Regions from separate parts of the Homo sapiens genome. Here region 1 is linked to region 2. Evidence: promoter capture Hi-C in 16 types of primary human blood cells and fetal thymus (Javierre and others, 2016). All regions are on one chromosome and are shown on one strand. Each heading gives the region's core, a stretch centred on a gene start or on the middle of the fragment in contact. The rest is flanking DNA. Distances are from core to core; before and after follow the strand shown. Region 1 holds the start of ECEL1 (endothelin converting enzyme like 1). Region 2 holds the start of ALPG (alkaline phosphatase, germ cell).

Region 1 (3,270 bases), core at 451-2,950, 81 kb before region 2:
GGGGGCTGCCCCCCACCCCACCCCCGGGACTGGAGCAGAAGAGTCCCTAGGGAAGCGTGTTTGCCTCTGTGCCTTTCTGTCGGAAGAGGCTCTCTGAGACAATATCCATTTTTACATTTCTTGGAAATTTCATGGCATTCATTTCGGGGAAAATAAAAGCTGTCCTTGCTGGAGAAATGATACCAATCAGGGCCTGAAAAGGCTGGAAAATTATCCTCCTGGAGACGGGAACATTGAGGGAAAAATGCAGATTAAAAGCACAAAGAGCCACTTTGCCACCTCCCTGCCCTCCCCTCCCCCCTTCATGGAATCGCCACATTATAAGTAATTCCATTTTTCCTCTTTAGAATTAATAGGACCCAAGAAGGATGCATGGGGCAGAGGACAACCCTGGGGTGGCCAGAGATGGAGGCAGGGTATCCGGAGTGGGGGCTTAGAGATGGAGAGATGAAGAGGCAGGGAGAGGCAAGACAGGGGCAGAGGCCGGCACTCAGGGCCAGGGCTCAGGAGCTGGGCAGATGCACAGACCCTGAGGAGGAGAACAGGATGATGGGTAGGTTATCAGAGTCCCTACCTTGTTGTGATTTTTATTAGATGGTGCTCCATGGCTCTCACACATTGTTTAAGCCAATCCTACGGGCTGGAGCCGGCAGACCTGGGAGGGCTGGTGCTTTGTGGGGTCTCCTGCTAGAGACACCAGAGGCAGGGTAGGGCAGAGAAAGCAGAGACTCCAGAAACAGTATCAGTCTTCCAAGGAGCCCCAAGTTCTCTGTGTCCCATTAGGGCCAGGCTGTCTGGCCAAGGCAGGCAGGCAGGTAGAAGAGGGCTTTGCCTCCAGGCAGTGGGGAGGCCCCACATTTAAAAAGCCAGTTTACCTGGAAGAAGGCAGGCGGTGAGTAAATTCAGAGTCCCTGCACCCAGCCTGCCCTCCCATCAGTCCACATACCAGGGTCTTGAGGCTCAGGGCCTGTCTGAGGCCTAGGGCTGCTGGCCAGAGGGGGCAGGCTCCAGCCTTCCCTGGCTCCAGCAGGGAGACTTCGCTCATTCTTCTCTTGGCCTTTTCTTCCTACCTGGGCCAGGGACTCCCTGAGCCGTGGTGCCAGGGCCACCCAAGGCTGGGGAGGATGGGGAAGGGGGCGGCAAGCCCTCTTCTTGCAGGAGTCCCCGCTGAGCTCCCTTCACCAGGGGCTAGGTGAAGGGAGCGAGGCCAACCAGAAGCCCTAGTGGAGAGCCCATCCAGGGCAGGGGTTCCAAGGAGGACAAAAAAGCCGGTTAGTGAAGGTGCGCTCTGCGCCAGGGACTGTGCCGGCAGACACAGGCACTACTGACACCGCCCCCAGCCCTTCGGAGGAGTCCTCGGCTCCTCATCTCCAGCTCCAGCCCCTTTCCAGCCGGCTGGTGGGCGGCTGGGAGTGGGGACACTGGATCGGAGGGGACCCTTCACGGGAGTACTCGCTGCCCTCACTCGTCTCGGAACGCGGCTGGACCCGGAGTCCCCGACCGCAGCCCGCGCACGACCCCCGGGAGCCTGTCTCCGCGGCCGCCGACCCACGTCCGCGCTGCCGCCCCACTGCCAGGTGGCCCGAGAGATGCAGGAGGAAGGAGGGGCGCGCGGGGCGGGCGGAGGAGGGTGGAGCCGCCGGCGCGCCCCCTCCCTCGGGCCGGCAGGCGGGCGGCGCGGCGGGCTCGGCGCGGCGGCAGAGGAGGCGGCGGGCGCTGGGAGACACCGGACGCCCGCTCGGCTGCGCTGCGGCTCAGGCCCCCGCTCGGGCCCGACCCGCTCGGTCACCGCCGGCTCGGGCGCGCACCTGCCGGGTAAGTGGCGCCCGAGTCCCTGCCGCTGAGGCCACCACCGCGGCCACTTCCGTCGCCGCCGCCGCCACTGCGCGGAGCCTCCCGGCTTTGTCTGCGTCCTCTCGGCTGCGGCTCCGGCTGCGGCTGCGGCTGCGGCTCCCGGGCTCGGCTCTCGGGCTCCGCGGACTGCGCCGCACGGCGCCGGGGCTCGGGGGTCGCCAGCCAGCTCGCTCCCCGCCGGGGGTGAAACTTCGCCCAAGTTTGGGTTCTGGGGAGAACCTGTTGAAGCCAGGAGTGGCTCGGGGCGGGGACAGAGATGGTGGGAGTGGGGGGAGGGAACCCGTCTCGGGTTCTCCATCAGGGCCGTCCAGTGGGTGGGTTGTGTGTCCGCCACCCTGGGGCGTTGGCGCGCGCCCCTAGGGAAGGGGCGAGTGGGCCGTCGGGCCACCGAGCAGAAGGAGCCAGGGAGCGGGGTTGGCGTGGTCGATCCCGCGGACTTCCGCGAGGACAAAGTTTGGTTCTTTGGCCGCTTTGCGGAGCGTCTGTCTGGGTCCAGCGCGGAGAGCTGAAAGTGTCGCATAGACGCGCCCCTGACCGCACCTCCTCACTCCAGCCTCCGCTTCTTCCCCCACTCCACCCGGCCTTGGCTGGGGCAGGTCGTGGAAGAGAAAGGCGAAGGGGAAGAGGGACGACCTTTCAATGAAGGCCCACTACGTGCCAGGCCCCTTGCCTGGCGCCTCTTGCTTCCAATAAGAGCCCTCCCAACCCTGCGGCCCTCAAGTGTGTGCAGGGAGGGGACAGGGGGGAAGACTCCACTGTGCACCCGGGGGTGGTGGCCCCGCCGAACCCTCATAGTCCCTGGTTTCCGCAGTGAATGAGGCCCGCGGCTGGGGCCTCTGCACCCAGGCCTGTGTCCCTCCTCGCGGTGACCCTGAGCCCCATCCGGCTGCGGCGCCTCCTGAGCCTGCTTCCGCCCTTCCCGCAGCTGCGGCCCCAGGGCCATGCGGAGGCCCACGAGGAGGCCGGCGGCCACGCGCATCCCGTAGCCCAGGTGGCCCAGGTCTGCACCGCGGCGGCCTCGGCGCCATGGAGCCCCCGTATTCGCTGACGGCGCACTACGATGAGTTCCAAGAGGTCAAGTACGTGAGCCGCTGCGGCGCGGGGGGCGCGCGCGGGGCCTCCCTGCCCCCGGGCTTCCCGTTGGGCGCTGCGCGCAGCGCCACCGGGGCCCGGTCCGGGCTGCCGCGCTGGAACCGGCGCGAGGTGTGCCTGCTGTCGGGGCTGGTGTTCGCCGCCGGCCTCTGCGCCATTCTGGCGGCTATGCTGGCCCTCAAGTACCTGGGCCCGGTCGCGGCCGGCGGCGGCGCCTGTCCCGAGGGCTGCCCTGAGCGCAAGGCCTTCGCGCGCGCCGCTCGCTTCCTGGCCGCCAACCTGGACGCCAGCATCGACCCATGCCAGGACTTCTACTCGTTCGCC
Region 2 (2,903 bases), core at 365-2,864:
CCCCACACCTCTGCCCTCCCCCTGCTGTGCCCAGCACACCCACCAGCCCCCATCACCTGGTGCTTCGCCAGCCATTCCTGCACCAGATTCTTCCCGTCCAGCCTGGTCCCACCTTGGCTGTAGTCATCTGGGTACTCAGGGTCTGGGGTCCCCATGGGAAACATGTACTTTCGGCCTCCACCTAGGATCACCTGGGAACAGAGGATGGGGCAGGTGGATTTGGGGGCCTGGCTGGCCCCGTGTCCCCTCCTCATGCACAGCCCCTGACTCCCCTCCCCAAGGCTGTGGGAATGGCCCAGCCTGGGCTGCGCCTTCTACGCCCCCAACCCCACCTCCAGACCCTGCTGGCCCAGATAAGGCTTTTGGTTGCCTGGGTCTGAGCTGGTGCCCCCTCCCTGCTACTCTCTGCCCAGCCCCAGCCCTTGGCCCGGGGGTCGCACATCAATGTCCATGTTGGAGATGAGCTGCGTGGCGATGTCCTGGCACCCCTCCTGGCGGGCCGAGGCAGGCACGTCGGCATCCGAGTACCAGTTGCGGTTCACCGTGTGGGCGTAGGCGCCGGCTGGCGAGGCATGCTGCACCCGTGTGGTGGTTACCACTCCCACTGACTTTCCTGAGGGTGATAGAGGTCAGGATATGCGATAGAGGTCTGTCACCTGGCCCTGACCCCACAGCGGGCCCCAGCTCACCTGCTTTCTTGGCCCGATTCATCACGGAGATGACCTCGTTGCCGCGTGTCGTGTTGCACTGGTTAAAGCGGGCGGCTGCACTCAAGCCAATGGTCTGGAAGTTGCCCTTGACCCCGCACAGGTAGGCCGTGGCTGTGGCTCCACTGTCTGGCACATGCTTGTCTACACTGTATGTCTGGGGACAGAGACACTCTGAGCTCTTCTCTGGGGCAGACAAACAAGACCCTGATCTCTGTCCTCTGGGATTCCAACTGCCTCCAGCTCCTTATTGGAGCCCCAGCTGTTTAGGGTCCCTCCCTCCTACCACACTCCATAGCCAGGATTCCCCTTCTCTGCTTGGAGGACTCTAAGGTAGCCCAGCACTTACCTTGGACAGAGCCACGTACGGGAAGCGGTCCATGGCCAGGAAGGTCTCAGGCCCCAGTTTGTCCTTCTTCTGCCCTTTTAGGATCCTGGCAGCTGTCACCGTAGACACCCCCATCCCTGAAGGAGCAGAAGTGTGTGAGGCTTGCTCCCCAGGGCTGTCCTGGAACCACTGAGGGTCCGGGCGCCGGGGCTGTGAGGGCTGCGGGGCTGGAAGGCCTGGCTCACTCACCGTCACCCAGGAAGATGATGAGGTTCTTGGCGGCTGTCTGTGCAGGCTGCAGCTTCTTGGCGGCACCCAGGGCCTCGGCTGCCTGGCGGTTCCAGAAGTCCGGGTTCTCCTCCTCAACTGGCCAGGGGGAGAGCAAAGATCAGGTCAGCCTGGGCTGGGGGGTGCCCTGTGTGTGTGTGTGTGTGTAGGGGCAGCTGGGGGAGCCTCATTACCTGGGATGATGCCCAGGGAGAGCTGTAGCCTCAGGCCCAGCAGGAGCAGCACCCAGGGCCCCTGCATGTCTGGAAGCAGTCGGAGAGCGGCGAGGCGGAAATCCCAGGTATGGAGTATGAGCTGCACTCCAGGCTGCCTGGGTTTAAATCAGGGAAAACTGTGTCCTGGCCCCTCCCCTTGTTACCACCTTGACCCCGCCCAGCCTCTTGACCTGAAGCCACACTGGCTGAAGGGAGTGGCAGGGTGTGGCTGGGCTGGGCTGGGGCTGGGGTCCTGAGAAAGGCAGCTTAGGGTGGGACCAGGTGTCCCCCAGGGAAGGGTGGGATTTTGGGTATAGTGCAGTGTGCATCCTGCCGCCAGGGGCCCCTCCCCCAACCCCTGCTCACTGTGTCTTGTGTGGAACTAGACACCCTGTCACTCGTTCATCCACCATTTTTTTTTTCTGTATTTCCTGGGAGCTGGGGGCCAGGCTCTGTTCTGGTGTCGAGAGGAGGGGAGGCTGGAAGCACACAGCCCGGGCCAGATACTGGGTTCAGCTTTCTGATGCCAGGAGCCTGGGCCCGGTGGGAAAGGGGCACATGGGGGGCTTTGCCGCTCTGGCACCCCCTTGCTCCAACATCTGGCCTTGGCCTGGACAGGTGGGGCTGGCAGGAATCTAGGCCCAGAGCTCCAGGGCTGTGGGCATCTGTGGGGCCAATGGTGACAACACTGAGTGGGGCCGGGCCAGTCCTGCCCATTGCTTACATGTTGTGTTTGATTGTGTATGTGTTTGTGTGGGTGCACTCGCACTAATGTTTGGACGACGCAGTGGGGGAGAGTCCAGTGCCCTCGGCCAGACAGGCCTGGGCTGGGTCTTCCAGAGCAGCTTGTGCACTTGATTGTGACACCTGTTCCCTTGCACAGGCAGAGGGTGCCTGGGCGGACTCTGTTTTCGGTGGGCCCTGAGCATGCCCAGAACTGTAGCCTTTCACATGGGGATCAGATGTTTTGATAGCCTCAGGCTGAGTTAAAAAGTATTTCTGCAGTTCAGATACCTTGCCATCATTTTTTTCTTTCTGTTTTATTATTATTATTTATTTATTTTTTTGAGACAGGGGCTGGCTCTGTCACCCAAGTTGGAGTGCAGTGGTGCATTCACGCCACACCTCCTAGGCTCAAGCGATCCTCCCACATCAGCCTCCCGTGTATCTTCCATTATGTGAAGCTAATTTTCAAAAATTTGTGTAGAGTCAGGATCTCTTTCTGTTACCCGTGCTGGTCTTGCACTCCTGGGCTCAGGCGATCCTTCAACACTGCTAGGGTTCCAGACTTGAGCCACCAATCTGGGCCCACATTCAGGAGAAATGGATTTGGAGAGGAACCAGAGTGCTCAAGGGTGTGTGACATGTGCCACAATCGTGGGCAAA

The links. Contacts are between HindIII fragments. The CHiCAGO score rates a contact against its expected background, and 5 or more counts as called.
Region 1: a contact is called between the fragment with the promoter of ECEL1 here and the fragment with the promoter of ALPG in region 2, in 1 of 17 cell types (erythroblasts). The highest score is 5.5, in erythroblasts.

The regions. Positions count from the first base shown.
Region 1 is chr2:232,486,264-232,489,533 of GRCh38, reverse strand. ECEL1 (endothelin converting enzyme like 1) reads left to right here and starts at 1,700. Exons shown (of 18, transcript NM_004826.4): 1 at 1,700-1,815; 2 at 2,780-3,270. The coding sequence starts at 2,881. LOC124906124 (a long non-coding RNA gene) reads right to left here and starts at 1,591. Exons shown (of 3, transcript XR_007088123.1): 1 at 575-1,591; 2 at 1-218. RefSeq lists an enhancer at 3,046-3,270. The HindIII fragment of the contact is 9,213 bases long and covers 1-3,270 here.
Region 2 is chr2:232,405,555-232,408,457 of GRCh38, reverse strand. It overlaps ALPG (alkaline phosphatase, germ cell), which reads right to left and starts at 1,614. Exons shown (of 11, transcript NM_031313.3): 1 at 1,497-1,614; 2 at 1,285-1,401; 3 at 1,057-1,172; 4 at 690-864; 5 at 441-613; 6 at 57-191. The coding sequence starts at 1,563. RefSeq lists an enhancer at 351-1,550. The HindIII fragment of the contact is 10,567 bases long and covers 1-2,903 here.